Linked DNA regions of Homo sapiens: region 2 is linked to region 1. Evidence: promoter capture Hi-C in 16 types of primary human blood cells and fetal thymus (Javierre and others, 2016). All regions are on one chromosome and are shown on one strand. Each heading gives the region's core, a stretch centred on a gene start or on the middle of the fragment in contact. The rest is flanking DNA. Distances are from core to core; before and after follow the strand shown.

Region 1 (4,869 bases), core at 1,580-4,079:
CAGTCATGTCTCCACCCTCTATTCACGTTATCCTCCACTCCTCTTGAGTACCCTCTACCTAAATCCTATCCATCCATTATAAAACATACTTTGGCTCTCTCAACTCACAGTGACTTCTTTCTCTCAATTTCCAAGAACATACATTATCTAAACAATCATCTGGAATTTATCACATTTTCTCAATCTGTGAAGTGTTTAGCTTTGTTTCTGTGTATATATGTGAGACAAGGTTTTGTCTTCCATTAAATAGATTGGACTCTCAGGGAAAGAGTCATGACTTATATTTCCTTGTATCCTCCACATGTAAATAAAGGTCCCCACCAAATGAAGCTATAGCAAGAGGCCAGAAGATGATTTAAAGAAAAAGAAAGCTACTAAACCCTCCCTATAACACCACTCATGTAATAAGGAGATCGAAAAGCAAAATAAAATCAAAAATATATGAAAACTGGATAAATATTAAAAGATAAATCAGACTTCTTAGAAGTTATAGAAATCCTTACTACAAGATATATTCTAATTCCTTCCACTTATCTCGTTTAATAAAATGTTTTAAAATCTATTACGCATCAACCTTCTTTACTATCTCTCAATATAAAGAGCATCCATAATGTGGTGAGACATTTCAAACAACCCACAATAGTCTTATTTCCTGGTCAGGGATGCTTACAACAATTCTGAAAGCTTTGGGAAGCTTGTTGTAAAACCCATACACGTGGAAAAATACAAATAAACAGAAATTTAGAGTAACTGAAATGCACGTTAATTTTAAACAATCTACATTAATTTTCCTTTGATTCAAGATGCGATTTTTGAATTGTATTATTTCTTTGAATGGTATTATTTTGTTTCCTTAATCTTAATCCCCAAAATTGAGCATATCTAACATTATTTCACCGAAGACATTGTGAAATCCTGTCCATATACATGCTCCCTGAAACCTTATTTTAGAGATTATGTGGTTTTGTTTGGACCAAGAAATATTATATAACCCTTAGTTGTTCAGAAACTCTGAACAACTTTGATACATTTACAGAGGAAATGTATCAAACCTAAGAATTCCAATTATTTACAGATAACTGTATTATCAACCACTTAACTATTTTTAAAATGGGATTGTGGTTTTTCATGTCATAAAACCCTCTTTAGAATGTTTTACAAGTGACAATGTTAAGTGCCACACCACCAAAAAGACAGTTACAATAACTGTATGGTACGTACTTTTGTAACCAATAATACAATAAAATAAGTTAACACTGTAATTACCTATGACCAATTATCTTGGTTTTTTACAATAGTTTAGCAAAAAGTTCCTTCAAACTCAAATCACCTATGAAATTTTGGCTCAAAAATCACTTCCTCAATAGCAATTCTCCGTTATCATTTTCAAGGCTAAAAACTAAACCCCTAGGAGCTAAATCGCAAAAAGGAAAAAAAATGCAAAGTAGTCTTTCCAATTTAACTGTCAAACGGATCAGAAAGATTAACATTAATTACTACGATCGCCATTCAACAAACTGTATACATTGCAGTAACTCTGACGTGATAACTTTTTATAGGATGCCTGCAATAGCAGTTTGTAAGTATCTTTCGGGTACTCATGAACTGAGTCAGAATTAAAAGTTCAGAGTAGTTAGTACAGAGCCAGTCAAATGGCAAATAGGACCACACCATGAGATGTTAATGGTACTCCAAGATTCTTCAGGAAACAGAAATCTAGCATTTTCCAAGACGATTATGCACACCTGAGACTTTTGCAGCGAACCAGACTAATGCAAGAGGAAGGAAAGACATGCAAAACCCCAGACAAGCAAAAGAGAACAGCGCTACTCACCAGCAAACAATCCGAATTCACTTCCGATTTGGGATCCCGCAGCAGGTTGTCCATTTTTTCAAATCGAGTCTCAAAACTGTCCCCAGTCGACATGTTGCTGCTGCTGTGACAATGCCCTCTTACCAGCACCAGCAGCGGAAAGCAATTTCAACCAACTTCCTCCGCGGTGGGTTCGCAGCCGCGGGGCGGAGGAGCCGGAACCTCAGGGTCACCAGGTGCGCCCGGTTCCCCCGTCTTCCCCTCACTGAGGGGACCTCCGCTCTCCAGACCCCGGGCCGGGGGCAACAGCGACCCACAGCCGCTCGGACGCCCAAAGTCGCATCCCACCCGGCAGCCCCTCACGACAGCCGACAGCGCCGTCGCCACCAGCCTCGTCGCTCCGGCGAGGTGCTTCAGTCTAGCGGGCCCCGGCCGCCGTCGCCATGGAGGGGTCCCCGTCCCGAGATGGGCAGGAGCGGGTAGAGAAAGAGAAGCAGGGTGGAGACTCCCTCCGGGCAACAAGGGAGGGAGAAGAGGAAAGGCGAAAGCAAAGGGCGGGTGAGGAGCTGTGCCAGCTGCGGCCGCCGCTCGGGCCACGGGCCGGGCCCGCTCCGCTCAGAGGCGCTGTAGACGGTCTAGCCCCGCGTCCCCGGCTCTACTCGGCCCGGCCCGACGCACCGATCAGTCTCGGCCACGAGCTGGTCCACGCAGGACAGCCTCACTCTCCCATTTTGTCCCGTCGCTGCTGGGGCTGCTGCTACGGTGTCCGGTGGGGCAGGGCGAGGTCGATGCCCGATGGAGACTTAGCAGAGGAAAGGCTGGAGAGCGGGCGAAGAGGAAGACGATAGTTGGGTCCCGGCGGCTGCTGATGGGGGAGCTTCTGGGAGGGGCTGCGGTCCCAGCCGGGGAAAGGGCGAGTCGCGGCGGCGAATGCCTGGGGGGTGGGGCGAGGGGGGCTGAGAGGGACTAATATGTCCGCCTTCCTGTTCAAACAAACGGAGACCGCCGGGGCAGACTGCGCATGCGGGGCGCGGACGCTCGGAAGGGGAACCAGCCGGGACCCCGCGCGCGCGCGCGCACTCTGTCGCCTCCGCAGGGTGGGGTGGGGCGGGGCGGTGAGGTGGGCGGGGCCTTGCGGGCAGGCGGTGGAGAAGGCGGACCGCTGGGAGGAGCCGAGTGCGGGTAAGCAGCTGCCGGCAAGGTTCTCGCCTTGGCCGGCTCTGAGGAGCCATGCAGGGCTCTGGAGCGGCCTTGGAGGTCCGGACGGAGGCGGAGCTCTGGCTGCTTCTGATCGCTGTCCCGGCAGATGCCCCAGCTCTGTTTCCTCTGGGTTGCAGCCAGTCCAGAGACTTCTGACGAGGAGAGAGTGCTTGTTCTCCTTGTTGCTGTTAGGGTGGGGCAATAGGTTCTTTTTTAGGCAAGAAGCCTTTTCGTCGGCAGGTACCAGCATTGAGCACCAGTGGCGTTTGGTTTTCAGTGGTACTCCATGGACAGCCCTCCGCGAGCCCCGGCGTTGAACCCATTTACGATTCACTGGGAAAGTTCCGAAGCGCTGCAGCGCTCAGCCCTCCCACGCCAGGCGTGTGTGTCAGGGGAGCCATAAAATACTGACTCCGGAAGATACAGTCAATAGAAGTCAAGCTCAATTTAATTTTTTTAAAGGAAAATAATCTCGTAGAAAAAAATCAATATTTTTAAGTCGTTCGTGTTAGTTCTCATAACACCCCTACTGTAGTTCTCTCCTGGACGTGTAATGCTGCCGTTTCAATGTCAAAACATTCAGTGAAACTTAATTGTGATTTTTATCAGAACTAATGTAGGACATGAGAATAATGGGCATTTCTCCTAGTTCCGTTACTTCGTTGACTGTGGTGTGAGGAAAGGTGAAAGACTTGTCACTCACCCCCGCTGATAAAGTTATGTTCTTCACTGGTTTCAGCAGGAAATCTACCTTAATTTATTCCTCATCAAACTTTATTTTTGCTCAGAAGCCAAATTAAGGATCACTAGAAATAGAAAATGTGGATCTTTTACCCCATGATGGAAAATGCTACAGATGAACCAAAAAGCATCGGAGTAAAAAGCATCGTACAGCATCTGAACAGTCCACCAGCCTTACGATGTGAGTCAGAGGTTAGGAAAATCTTACACTGTTTGAAAAAATGTCTATTTCTATTTTCAATTTATTAAATACAAGAAATATTTAGATATAAAATCCACTATATATATCAAGATAGGACGTTCTTGGTTTATACAAAAATCATAACAAAGACAACTAGACAAACCAGGTATTTCATTAAATGCCTTTGCAGCGACTTTTCTTGGCTCCAGCATTTTAAGTCATGTGAATTAGACTTATTTTTAAGCATAGGGCTTAAAATAAATCAGGCAGTTGCCCTAAAATAAATTTCCTAAACCCTGCTTGTCTTTTTTTTATTATTATTACCATTTTTAGGTATTAGGAATTTTGTTGTTTCTCAGAGAACCGTGAACATTATGTTGCTTTCCATTTAGACACATACGAAAAAATACAAGTAGTTAAGACAATACATGAGTGACACTGATAAATATAAGTGGAAGTGATAACCAACCTGGCAGAACTACTAGAAATATATGTGGGGTCCATATATTTCTAGAAATATCTACTAGAAATATAGGTGGGGTCCATATATAGCTTACTTACCTACAAGGCTCTTCTGATTATTGTGACACATCACTAGTTATCTTCTGCCATAAGATAGATGGACTCTAAATCTAGTTATCTTCTGCCATAAGATAGATGGACTCTAAATTAACTTTTTTTTTTTTCTCCGAGGCGGAGTTTCACTCTTGTCTACCAGTCTGGAGTGCAGTGGCACGATCTCGGCTCACTGCAACCTCTGCCTCCCGGGTTCAAGCGATTCTCCCGCCTCAGCCTCCGGAGTAGCTGGGATTACAGGCACACGCCACCACGCCCAGCTAATTTTTGGTGTTTTGTTTGTTTTATTTTGTTTTGAGATGGAGTTTCACTCTTGTTGCTCAGGCTGGTGTGCAATGTCGCGATCGCGGCTCACCGC
Region 2 (4,869 bases), core at 1,248-3,747, 48 kb before region 1:
TGATTCTCCTGCCTCAGCCTCCCAAGTAGCTGGAATTATAGGCACCTGCCACCATACCCGGCTAATTTTCGTATTTTTTAATACAGACGGGGTTTTGTCATGTTGGCCAGGCTGGTCTTGAACTCCTGATCTCAGGTGATCTGCCCGCTTCAGCCTCCCAAGGTGCTGGGCTTACAGGCAAGAGCCACTGTGCCCAGCCTTAAATGCATTTTTGCTAAGTGAAAAAAAGACAGAATCAAAAGGCTATACACTGTATGATTCCATTTAATGACATTCTGGAAAAGGTAAAACTATAGGAACAGAAAAAGAGATCAGTGTTTCCCAGGAGTGGGGGTGATGGAACTGTTCCGAATGGTATTGGGGTGTTGCAGACAAGACTATGTGTTTGTTAAGACCCACAGAACTATACACACTTTATGCAAATTTAAAAAATCAATTGGGATTCTGGGGGATCTCAGGATGGAATCCAGATTCTAACAAATGAATCTAAATGTATGACTAACAAGATGACATGCCCTCATTGAAGGTGGTGAGGGAAAAGAAGCTGAACTACGTAATGCTGGAAAACTGTTTTAGCTGGAAACTAAGGCTAAAGACAAAAAAGGAACTGTACAAAGATATTGTGTTCCAGTTGGTAAATCCATTTCTCACAGGGTGTATGGTTTATTTTACATGAATATTAGGGTTGAGTAAGTAAATACCAATAATGGGAGCCAGGTTTCTCATCATCAGAGAAAAAAAGTTACAAACAGGCAAGGGCAAAAGCTAGAATGAATCTTGTGATACTAGTTTAGAGCTGGTAATATCAGTCTAAACACGTTTAACATGTGTACAGGTATAGAATTATAGTTATGTGTATAGTCACAGGCTGGTATACATGCATACATATATTTCCTAGCTATGGCAGCTGAGAGGGCCTTGAAACAGTGATCACCAGTAGCAATAAGCACACCTAGCACCCAGATCTTGGTTTCTAAATATCATTCTCCAATAAAAGGAACCAGAGCTCCTTGGAAAAAATGGCTGATTTCAGGGCTGAGGGAAAATATAAGATGAGCCTGGAGCATCGTGTAATGCCAGAAAGTAAAGAAGTGTTCCTTTTTTTAAAAAAAGTAAGAACATGTCAAAGAACACAGGAGTAGGAGCTGGGTCCAACCTGAAGGAGCTCCCAAAAGGCAAAAATGAGAACAATTTAAGTAACAAAGTATTAGGTTGGTGCAAAAGCAATTGAGATTTTTGCTAAAAATAGTGGCAAAAACTGCAATTACTTTTGCACCAACCTAATAAATAACACACTACTGGATTACAACCCAAAGTATGAAATAAATATATGCAGTTTATATTATATAAATCAATGACTAAATTAATAAATGGGGGAGAAAAGGCAAATCTTCCCTACAGAATTCCAAATAATACGTGTAAAGTCTCCCCTCCAGGAGAGTATGGAAAGGGAATACGCTCCCCTCCACAGCGTTTGGAAAAAGAAAATGGTAACTTACTAGTGGAGAAGCTTGCCAGACACTACCTTAAACCAAATGATAAGCGTTAACATCACCAGTGATGTGCCTAGATTTATGATGGAGTTATGTTCCAATGAAACCCTCATAAAGCTGGAAATTTTAAAGTCAGAGACCACCTGGACTTTCTAGATCATCTCTAACAAGTCAGTATCCAACGTCTAATGCACTGAGCTCATATATAACAAGTACTTACTATGCTGTCAGGTTTGGCAGTAAAAACATAAATGCCCCTGCTCTCATGGCACTTAAAATCTAGTGACAGGAGAAGGAGAAAAAGGAGAATGGATACTGTCTTAGTCTGTTTTTTGCTGCTATAACAGAATACCACAGAATGGGTAATTTATAAAAGAAAAAAGGGCATCTGGCAAGGGTCATTCAATGGTAGACAAGTGGAAGAGTAAGAGCATACATGCACAAGAGCTCACTTTTATAACCCCTTCCCACAATAACAGCATTAATCCATTCATGGGGGTGGAACCCACATGACCTAATCACTTCTTAACGTCCCCACCTACTAGCACTGGCAATTAAACTTTAATGAGTTTTGGTGGGGGCATTCAAACCACAGCAGGTACCAATTAAATAGTCATACAAATAAATATAACCTGTGATAAGTATACAAGATGCCATAGAAGTACATGCTCAGAAGGTCAGATCCATGAAGCCTAGATAACCAAGAGGTTAGGGAACAAAAATGAAGGCTTATTTGAAATTTAAAGGATGACTGCTTTGAGTTGGGTGGGTTGGAAAGAATTCTAGAAAGAGAAAAACAACATCTGAAAAGTCTTATGGAGGTGTCATGGTACTTTCCAGGAAATAAATGTCAGCGTGTAGCTGATGTGTAAGGAAACAAGGAGGAGAGGTGTACAGTTAAGAATGTAATTTAGAAGCTTAGATAGCATCAAGTTTAGAAAATCCACCAAAAAGCTGGGAATGGAATTTGACTTAAATTTACTATTCAAAAAGAATCCTCTGGCAGCAACGTAGGTAACTGTACATAGGCAAAAGTAGATGTATTATTGAGACTGAATGGAAGATTTTTGTGATCATTTAAATGAAAATGAAGAAGCTTAAACAATAGTTGTGTTGGAAAAAGAGGGAAAGTCAAGCCTCTGTATGAAGACTGCCACTGTTCAGAAATCTGCACTTATCAGTCTTTTCTTTGGTTTATTATAACCAGACCATTTACCTATCTTTAGTTTTTTGGGAACTCCATCATTCTCCAAAGTTTCTCTAAAGATCTTCAATCACCTCAGCATGTTAATTCAATAGGTGTAAACTGCCTTGATTTAGAGGTATTTAAAACACTCAAACTTTCTCCTCTTCCTTGAACTTACTTCAATTTCTTTATCTAAGTTTTTAAAACTCATGAGAATTTGAAAAGAAAAAACAAGCAACTAAGTAATTTTTTTTAATATCCAACCCATTAACCCAAAAGCCCCAGCCTGCCATTTCAGTCTCATCCCCTGCAGTCCGTCCTCCCGACCCTTTCTCTCTCATTATAAACCAAGTTCAATTTACACCAAACTCCTGGTTCCTCAAAGATGTCATACTTTTGGAAGACTCTGTGATTTAAATGGTCCTCCCTCTCAGAACTGTCCTTCCTCCATTGAAAAATCTAGCCCATGTTTTAAGACTCAAATATTACTTTCTTTTGGAAGCCTTTCTTTACCCCATTCAAGATCTGTGTATCATTACATTCTCTACAAACTTCTACTATTATAAGGTATATCTGTGTGTGTTTCCATCCATGAGATGGTAAGAGCTACAGTTTCTAAGAAAAACAGTCTTGTTCTTCATGTCTTTAGTAACTGGTCATTCAAAAACTATTTCAAGAATGGTCTCATGTAGTGAAATTATCCTTTTCTCACACATCTTGAATCCTAATTCTAACCAGGAAGGATGGGAGTAGAAGAGAGAATGACTTGTAAAGGGCTTAAGAGCTTTTCACAAGTTGTGGCTCATTATAGTCTTCTAGCCTAACACATTTTTAATAGATTTATACTACTCTTTTGTATTTATCCCTGGATATGTATTCATACTTCTGATCTGGTTCATAAAACTTTATAATCTCAGCTGAGAACTCCCTGTGGAAGAACCTTGCTTTCTATGGCTGCAACCTTCTAATATTTATTGCTTTTGATTACATTTTCTAAGCTTGGAGCACGTGTCTAACTGCGCCCACTATTTCTTTCCTTCATCAACATAAAGTCTTAGGCAGTTTTGCCTCTCAAGGGATATTTGGCAATGTCTAGAAATATTTCTGGTGATCACAACTGGGGATAGGTGTTAGGATATGCTACTGGCATTAAGAAGGCAGAGGCCAGGGGTGCTGCTAAACATCATACGATGCAAAGAACAGCCTCCCAGCAAAGAGTTATCTGACCTAAAATGTCATTGGTGCCACTTGAGAAACCCTGGTCTAAAGTGAACTGAATGCTTTGTCTCAAGGTCTGTGTAACATTCTAAATGATCATCGCTTTTGATCACTAACTCTGAATAGTGATTATTCGCATTACTTTCTCAGTAATTGTACTAGTGCCAAAGCAACCAAAAATTTACCAACTGTACTGTATGCTTTTATCACTACCATAGCTATTATGTCACTTTTGTAATCTATATTATAAAAGATATAGTATATGACATAAAATATCAGTTCTGTTTTTTTTTTAAGCCAAACAAATGAGCTCTCTTGCATTTATACCCGGAGGTTCATGAATTTTCTTCATTCAATGGTCTTACCTTCTCCATTATCTTCTTTTAGACTAAGATTTGTTTGATAAACATGTTTTTCTATTAACATATAATTATGAATCTTGTACCCTAAAGTCTCTGTGACATCCATAATGGTTTATAAGCATATACAATCATAATCACTGTTCCCAAATTTTCTCTCCCTTCATCCTCCCAATGTTCTGGCTCCCAACATGTGTCTTCAAAACTGTGACTAACTCCCACAACAATCGCTTAATTTTATCTTGGTATCATCTCTCTAACTCCTATGAAAATGTCACCTGAAATCTTTCCTTATCAGGTATGTGAGGCTGATAAACATCTTCTTTGCAGCCTTATTATTTAGGTATCATACACCAGAGCCCAGAAAAGTAAATCTTTATATTTCACTATTCAGTCAAATGTTCACAGATTCTCCTTTCCCTTTTGTTTCCACACACTTCTTAACACAAAGAGATAAAAATTAACAGGTTGCAATATAATTAAACCTGATGATTAAAAATTATATTTGAGGCTTAATTTAATATGACTTAAGCTGAATTTTTTAAAGAAAAATATTTTATCCCATATTCCAGGTATATTCTTAGATCACTACATCTGATATATGTCAGCAAAA

The links. The method cuts DNA at HindIII sites, captures the fragments that hold promoters and counts their contacts. A CHiCAGO score of 5 or more calls a contact.
Region 2: a fragment that was not itself captured here is called in contact with the fragment with the promoter of ROCK1 in region 1 in 3 of 17 cell types (naive CD4 T cells, total B cells and naive B cells); the score reaches 5.5 in naive CD4 T cells.

Annotation. Positions count from the first base shown.
Region 1 is chr18:21,108,984-21,113,852 of GRCh38, forward strand. It overlaps ROCK1 (Rho associated coiled-coil containing protein kinase 1), which reads right to left and starts at 2,830. Exons shown (of 33, transcript NM_005406.3): 1 at 1,835-2,830. The coding sequence starts at 1,927. RefSeq lists enhancers at 2,483-3,071, 2,725-3,019, 3,119-3,338, 3,369-3,428 and a silencer at 2,689-3,078. The HindIII fragment of the contact is 6,843 bases long and covers 693-4,869 here.
Region 2 is chr18:21,061,181-21,066,049 of GRCh38, forward strand. The region is part of intron 2 of ROCK1 (Rho associated coiled-coil containing protein kinase 1); the gene reads right to left. Among named protein-coding and RNA genes, the nearest start is that of ROCK1, 48 kb to the right of the region's middle. The HindIII fragment of the contact is 179 bases long and covers 2,409-2,587 here.